Linked DNA regions of Homo sapiens: region 1 is linked to region 2. Evidence: promoter capture Hi-C in 16 types of primary human blood cells and fetal thymus (Javierre and others, 2016). All regions are on one chromosome and are shown on one strand. Each heading gives the region's core, a stretch centred on a gene start or on the middle of the fragment in contact. The rest is flanking DNA. Distances are from core to core; before and after follow the strand shown. Region 1 has its middle 18 kb from the start of MIR8070. Region 2 holds the start of EIF4G2 (eukaryotic translation initiation factor 4 gamma 2).

The links. The method cuts DNA at HindIII sites, captures the fragments that hold promoters and counts their contacts. A CHiCAGO score of 5 or more calls a contact.
Region 1: a contact is called between a fragment that was not itself captured here and the fragment with the promoter of EIF4G2 in region 2, in 2 of 17 cell types (naive CD4 T cells and total CD8 T cells). The highest score is 6.3, in naive CD4 T cells.

The regions. Positions count from the first base shown.
Region 1 is chr11:11,799,291-11,803,298 of GRCh38, forward strand. No RefSeq gene overlaps it. Among named protein-coding and RNA genes, the nearest start is that of MIR8070, 18 kb to the left of the region's middle. The HindIII fragment of the contact is 1,631 bases long and covers 1,208-2,838 here.
Region 2 is chr11:10,807,621-10,811,534 of GRCh38, forward strand. It overlaps EIF4G2 (eukaryotic translation initiation factor 4 gamma 2), which reads right to left and starts at 1,306. Exons shown (of 22, transcript NM_001418.4): 1 at 1,085-1,306. It overlaps LOC101928053 (a long non-coding RNA gene), which reads left to right and starts at 1,677. Exons shown (of 3, transcript NR_120540.1): 1 at 1,677-1,746; 2 at 2,237-2,301. RefSeq lists enhancers at 79-158, 889-1,148, 1,659-1,708, 1,784-2,390 and a silencer at 1,429-1,478. The HindIII fragment of the contact is 4,879 bases long and covers 1-2,259 here.

The sequences.
Region 1 (4,008 bases), core at 773-3,272, 990 kb after region 2:
AGTTCAAATTTTTAGTCAGATCTGGTTACTTTCTCCCAAGGCAAGTAACCCAAGAAAGTACCAGAAATCTTACACTAGCTCCACTATATTATGGTTTAGTAGTATTAGTGTCAACATTAACATTGTTGAAAAATACAATTGCAATTTTTTGAGCACATGCTATACAACAGGCATTGTACTTTTTTCTCTGTACATGATATCATTTGACCCTCACGTTGCCCCTGTGAAGAATTATGATTATTAGGAAACTAAGGTTCAGAAGAATAAGTGATATCCCAAGGTCACATGGCTTCTAAAGGCCAGACAGTCCAAGGCAGAGTGGAGCACATGAGCAAAGACACAGAAACAGGGAAAGCAAAGTATTCACAGTGCCCTACAAGCAGCTGGGTATTCTTGGAGAATAAAACAAGAAGGACATAGAGACAGAGACCACCTATCACAACACAGAATATACTGTTAGGCTAATGACTTTATCATGCAAATGACTGAAAGCCTTTGAAGAGTTTTAAACAGGAGAGTGACATGCCAGACTTATGTTTTAGGAACTGTGGCAGAGAATGGATCGGAGAAAATAAGACTGAAGGCAGGAAGACCAGATGGAAACTGTTGAAGTAATAAAGAAATGATGACAGCTTTGTGCCTTCTCCATCTCTTTTATATGGAGGGACAGCCCTGGAATAGAAAAATGTTTAGGAGGTAAAATCAGCAGGTCTTGGTGAAGTATTACATAAGGTGTCAGCCTACGGCATCTCCAGCCTATTCTCCCATGCCTTGGACTGACGTATACAATCATCTTGTAAATGACCCATGTCAAATTGTGCAGAGAATACATGAATGAACAAAGCAAAGTTTCTGATGACCTTCTAGTTGGAGCAGACAATACCAAATAAACAAGAAAAATATCCAACAGAGATAAGTGTTATGCAGACAATTAAAATATGGTGATGTGATAGGTGTCGGGCTCCTTTAGAATGAGTGGTCAGGGAAACCTCTCTGAGATGTCATTTAGACTTTCTAAGGCCATGTGAAAATCAGGGAAAGAAGTGGCTTACGAGGTTGAAAAAATCCAAAGCAGGCCAGTGAAGCTAGAATAGAATGGGCAAAGGAGAAAAGGGAATAAGGTAAGATTAGAGAGATCGGCCAGAGGCCAGATCACACAGGACTTTGGAAGTAAGGTTTGGGAACCTAGATTTTGAGTATCATGGGAAGCTTGTGGAAGGTTTTAATCAAGGGAATGACCTTATCTAATGTAAGTTGCTAAGTGATCTCCCTGGCTTCTGTATGAAAAATGAAGGCAGGGGAATAGCGAAAGCAGGGATAGTTGTTCCACTGAGAAATGATGGTGGTCTGGAGCAAAGTAAATGGATTACGGACCTCTTCTGATAGAGTAGAGTGGAAGGTAAGAGAGAGACGAATCAAGGGTGACTCTCTATTTTGGCTTGGGCAACAAGGATGGAGAAGCCATGAAGGAGCAATTTGACATGGAGAAATCAAGAGCTTTGTTTTGGACGTGTGGAGTTTGAGATGTCTACTAGAGACCCAAGGGAATATGCCAAGTAGGCAGCTGGAAATACAAGTCTGGAATTCAGGACAGAAAGTGCATATAGAAATGCACATTCCAGAATGATCAGCCTATAGTTGGCATTTAAAGTCAGAACACCAGCTGAGATTTCTTACTGAGTAAGAAAGAGCAGAGATGAGGCTGAGAAGTGAGCTCTGAGACATTCAAATATTTGGACGTCAGAAAAAAAAGAGGAGCTAGGGAAGAAGATAAGATGGAACAGCCAATGGGTGAAAAGAAGTCAAAGACTTCTGCAGTGTCCCCATAACCAAATGAAGAAAGTGGTCAAGAAAGGGAAAGGAACCAACTGTGTCAAATATCACTAAAAGTTCAAGTTGAAAGAGGACTGAGAACCAACCATCAGATTTTACAAGATGGATGCTATTAACGCATACGGAAAGAGATCTCAGGGGATTGGCAAGGACAAAGTTCAATAAGAGCAAATTAAAGGGAGAAAGGAAGTAAGGAAATGGCCTCAATGTCCCTAGGAGGAAAAACCACATGCCAGGGATGAGAACTCAGGGGTGGTATAGGGCTTGAGGAAGGTGGTGAAGGCTAAGGCAAGTAATGAGCTCTTGAAGGAGGAGCTAATCGCAGTGGCACAGTGTGTGTAATCTACACTTCTTCTAGCAGCAGGAGCAGCAGCCCAGAAGTAGGAGCTGAGAAGACAGAGGTCTCATACATCCAGAGTTAGTTTTCTGATGGATGAGTCCAGCCAAATGAGAGAAAGTGAGGGAACCCAGAGTTCTGACAAGGAAGTGGCTCAGATAATTAACCATGTGAGTTCACAAAGAAAAATGTGCAGGGCAGTACTTGTGGGATGGGACAAAAACAGGAGCCAAGGACTTGAGGACTCTTTGTGGAAGAAGAACAGGCAGGGGAGGAATGAGTACTAACAGAGCTGAATAAGAAGCTGGTCGGAAGGAGAGATTAAGGTAACAAGACCATGAGAAGGTCCTTAGCTAACTGGGAAATCAGTCCTGGAGTCACACTGGCAGCGGCTCCATCTTCGCGAAGAACAGGTTGGTACCAAGACTTGTCCCCAGAGCAGTCCTATTCCATTCATTGCATTTCCAGAGATTGACAATGCCAGGTGAGCTAACCATGCCTTTCACAACAGGTGGGTCCTGGGTTGGCTCTGCAGCAGTGTGCGTGCTCATTATAGGTAAGACCTGCCTGCAGGGCTGGAGGGGATTTGCTCCTGGCCTTCAGAACATCACGTTGTACATTCTTCCAAAGCAATGTCCCCTTGTGTTTTTGATGTTCCTAGAGACGCAAGCTTGGGTCCATGAACAATCTAAGAAAATCCTGGACTCAGAAATGCTTCTTCTTTTACACAGATGAGGTAGTGTTTTTGACCCAAATTATCTCCATTATGATAAACACCTTCCCTCAGACCTTAGCGCAAATAGATAAGCCCACTCCTCCACACATGCCCTGGCATACTTGGCCCGTAAATGGAAGATAGCTTTATTTCAAGGCAAAACCCTACTACACTGATATTTTTTTCTACTGTGTTGTGAGATATTGGGGAGAAATTGGGGATAAGAACAGTGCACCACTTCCACAGCACATAATAAGCACTCAGTAAATATTTTGTATTGGAATGAATGAATGGACACAATTTAGAAAACAGGGAAACAAAAGAGAAGAGAAAAGAAAGAGGTACCAAAACTTTTAGAAAAAAATTAAAACATCGTCTTTTTTTTTTTGAGACAGAGTCTCATTCTTGCCAGGCTGGAGTGCGGTGATGCGATCTCGGCTCACTGCAACCTCTGCCTCCCGGGTTCAAACGATTCTCCTGCCTCAGCCTCCCAATTAGTTGGGACTACAGGTGCATGCCACCATACCCAGCTATTTTTTTTTTTTTTTTTGGATTTTTAGCAGAGACAGGGTTTCACCATATTGGCCAGGATGGTCTCGATCTCCTGACCTCATGAACCGCCTGCCTCAGGCTCCCAAAGTGCTGGGATAACAGGTGTGGGCCACCATGCCCGGCCAAAACATAGTCATTTTTACATTTGCCAAAAATCCCTCTTTGTAAACTATCAAGGAACAATTTTTTTACTATTCACTCAACTATTTCCTATAAATAAACACAGCCACACTGAGGATTATTACTTTTTTAAAAAACTTTTTTTTTTTTTTCTGAGACAGAGTCTTGCTCTGTTGCCCAGGCTAGAGTGCACTGGTACAATCTCAGCTCACTGCAACCACCGCCTCCCAGGTTCAAGTGATTCTTGTGACAGCCTCCCAAGAAGCTGGGATTACAGGCATGTGCCACCCACCTAACTAATTTTTGTATTTTTAGTAGAGACAGGGTTTCGCCATGTTGTCCAGGCTGGTCTGAAACTCCTGGCCTCAAGCAATCTGCCCACCTGGATCTCCCAAAGTGCTGGGATTACAGGAGTGAGTCACCGTGCCTGGCCTTAGAAACTTCTTTTCTA
Region 2 (3,914 bases), core at 56-2,555:
CGAATCTTTTGAAAAAGCCACATTCTACTATCTTTAAAACTGAGCACTGAGATCAATAGAAAAGTCTAACTACAGACACGAGCAACATCACGTGGAAAATGTCTGCCCTAGGAATTTTTACTGCCTTGACGAGGCCAGCGACTAGATGAGGTCTCTCCGAAAGCTCTTCAGCAGTTTTCCCCTGTCCACCCTTTCGCCTCCTCCCCGTGGAGAGCTCGTGGAAAGACGCGCGAGAGGGGGCCGGGTGTACAGGACTAGCACTTGCAGGCGGAAGACCAGGGCCACAACATGGCAGCAGGAACCTCCGCCCCGTTTTTCCCTTCCTGGGAACAAAAGAGCGGAGCATTCCTCCCACCCAGGCGCAAGTTAGGGAAGTGCTTCCGACAACCTCCCCGCGAGGCCCGGGTCGCTCGACGGGGAGGAGCAGCTGAGGCCACCCCCGCCAGCCCGGCGCCCAGCTCTTTGTTCTCCAAGCAGGAAGGCGGCCTCCTGCCCACCCGCCGCCTCCAAGCGGGCCCCCTCCTGCACCATAAATCCCCCCGGGACTGACAACCGCCTCGCCACGGCCTCCTCTGCTGACAAAAGGGGCAGAAATCATCACTCTCTCTTTCCTCCCCGACGAAGGGCAGCCCCTGCCGACTCCAGGTCCTACACACCTCCCCGCCGGGAGGCCAGGCTCCGGGACGCCTGCGGTTCCCTGGTCCCGCGCCAACGGCCTGGCCTTCCCTGCCGGCCCGCGTGCCTCCCGCCACGGCGCTAGCGGTCCGAGCCACGCTCCCTCGCCGTCCGAGCACAGCCGTGCCTCGGTCCGCCACGGCCTCGTCCCTGCAGGCGTCGGCCATCCGGCCATGACCGCACGGCGGCCTGGCCAACACTGACGTTTTCCTTCTACTCCGTCAGCAACAGGAAGAGAGAACAAAAGCCAAGACTTTCCAGGTATCTGAAGCGCAGAGGAAATGCTAAAAAAGGGTCGCCCCACCCGGCTCCGCCTGCGGCCGCCATTTTGTACCACTCGAGAAGAAGCGACCAGGGACGGCGGCCATTTTAGAGCGCTCCACTCGGCGGCGGCAGCGGCTCAACTCACCTTCACCGAGAACTCAGCAGCTGCCACCGCAGCTGCCTCCTCAGGATCCGGTCGTCGGGGATAGGGAAGGGAGGGGAAAGGGGAACGGAAAACAAAAAAAAGGGGGAGGGAAGGGGGAGGAAGGAGTCGGGGACGGCCTCAAACTCAGCTCAGAGGAGTCGCTGCTGCAGCCGCCACTCGGTACCCGCTGCCACCTCCATAGAGCTCCGACTCACTGCTGGCGCTAAGGCGTGTCTGAAGCCGAACTTATCACTCTTGGGGCAGCCGAACCCACCAGAGTCTCCCCGAATGGCTCCTTCGCCGCCCAATCAGCGGCCCGGTTGCCGTCTGCCACCAATCCGCGCAGGGCAGCGAGGAGGAGCCACAGGGCTGAGCTCGGTTGCGGCGCAGCCCCGCCGCAGTGCGCAAAGCCATATTCGCGAAGTCTCTGAGGCTGAGCCAGTGGCGTAAGGGGCGCCGAGCGCTGTCGAGATGAGGGTTGCGTGCGTAAAGCCGGAGAGCCCTTTTGAGTCTGCGTTGGCGTGGCTGCTGCTTCTTGCTCCAGTCCCTTTGTTCACTGAGTCCATATGCCATGCTCCAGTTGTATCATCCCCTTTTCCCTCGACCTCGTTTTCTCACCGGGAATATGGGAAGAAAACGCACCCTTACCTCCCCCGAACCCTGTGCGTGGCGAGTGAGCATTGCTTTTCTTGGCGCCCCTTGGAGCTGTGGCTGCCCTCGCGTGCCTGGCCTCTCCCGGGGCTGAGCCCTTCGGGTTGAGGCCTGGAGCCCCCGGGCGCAGCGCCGGGACACTACCCGGCTCCAGGTCCTCGGCTTCGGCAGCCTTAGGGAACCCAGAAAGTAGTGGGGAGGAGGCGAGACGTGCGCCCGGATGCCAAAGGGGAGCTTCATTCAGCTCCTTATTGGCCCACCCCCTGCAGAGTGAATGAGAAAGTGATGAAAGGAAGGGGTTGATTTTCTTCGAACCGCACAGAAGAAGCTGCTTTTCCCATAGGAATGTCCGGCTGGCGGTCACCGAGGAAAACACCCTGTGTGTCAGACTTCCGCGGGTGTTTGGAGGATTTCGAATTGCTAGCTCCTGTTTTTTTTTGTTTTTTGTTTGTTTAAGTGCACGTTAAACATTGTCAGTTGTGTATTTTCATTTTATTTAAGGTTCACCATAAGAAATAGGATTAAGCTTTTCAAAGCCGGCAAGTTGAACTATTTATACTTACCAGGTAATGTATTGATGAGTACCTTATTCCATCGTTTGCGACATTGTAGCTATACTAAAATGGAGTCATACTTCCATAAACTTAAACAACAAAAATGTCCCCATCTCCATTTTAACATGTAGTACTTTTACAGTGTATAGTCAAAGGCAAGAATGTGTGTGTTTTAACATGAATGACTTTTAAAGTGTTCAGTAAGAGGCAGGATTTTCAAAGACCCAAACTTAACCTTTGATGTGTCAAAACAGCTCTTGGTATTAGAGCACCTGGTCCTTAATACAATTTTCCGGAAAATTGCAGTTTTTCCTACGACATTTAAATGTAATAGAAGGCTGTGGTGTGGCTCTGAAGGTTTTTAACACAATTCCAACATCTGTAGATCTTTGCTATAGAATAGTCACCATTCCCTACTTTACTGTTACTACACTTATTGCTATTACATCAATTTTACTTGAACTTTAAAACTTGGAAGAGATATTCTAAAAAAAAAAAAAAACTATTTTGGGGTGGTGGTGGTGGTGCAAGTTTTGTTTTAAATACAAGAGGTTTCACTTTGTATTTCTTTGGACCCTTCTAGCTTCATGATAACACGAGAATAATGTTTCTTTATAATTTCTGTAGGGCTTTAAGGTTTGGAAAAATGCATTAGTATATGTGATATTTTTACATAACTGGTTTACATTCCATTTATCTGATAATGAACGAATACATTAGTTTACTAAGAAGAGTAGTATTCAAAAACTATTGTCTAGACTTCAAAGAGAATATTCACCTAGCCGTAAAAGTCGGATGTTCTTATAATTAAGACACTTAAAATTCAGTAATTAAAAATTTAAAAAAGGTTTTACTTAATATTTTATTTAATCTTTGCTAATTGGGAACCCTTTTGGTATGGGCTTTGCAGATATGAGTTTATGTGAGAAATTGACCTGGAAGGGAATAACCTAAGGTAGAAAAAGTAAAAATATTGATAAAACAATCTTTCAATTACCTTTCTCTCACTTAAATAGAAAGATTTGAAGTTGAAATCGTACCTGCAAAGCCCATTGCAGAAGGGTTCACAATTAGCAAAGATTAAATAAAAACATTAAGTAAAACCTTTAGAAAAAAAAATTTTTTTTTGAGACAGAGTCTCACTTTGTCACTCAGGCTGGAGTGTAGTGGTGTGATCTCTGCACACTGCAGCCTCCACCTCCTGGGTTCAAGCAGTTCTCGTGCCTCAGCCTCCTGAGTAGCTGGGATTACAAGCATGTGCCACCACGCCCAGCTAATTTTTGTATTTCTACTTGAGATGGGGTTTCACCATGTTGCCCAGACTGGTCTCAAACTCCTGACCTCAAGTGATCCACCCGTCTGGGCCTCCCAAAATACTGGGATTACAGGTGTGAGCCACTGTGCCCAGTGTAAAAAATTTTTAATTATTGAATTTTAAGTGTCTTAATTATAAGAACATCTAGCTTTTAGGGCTAGATGAATATACTCTTTGAAGTCTAGACAATAGTTTTTTTTCAAATCGAAATATATTTAAGTGAGGGAAATAAACATTGAAACTTTCTAAATGTTTCCATCACGTCATGGATATATGAAAATTCAGCAGCACTTTTGGAGGCCAAGCTGGG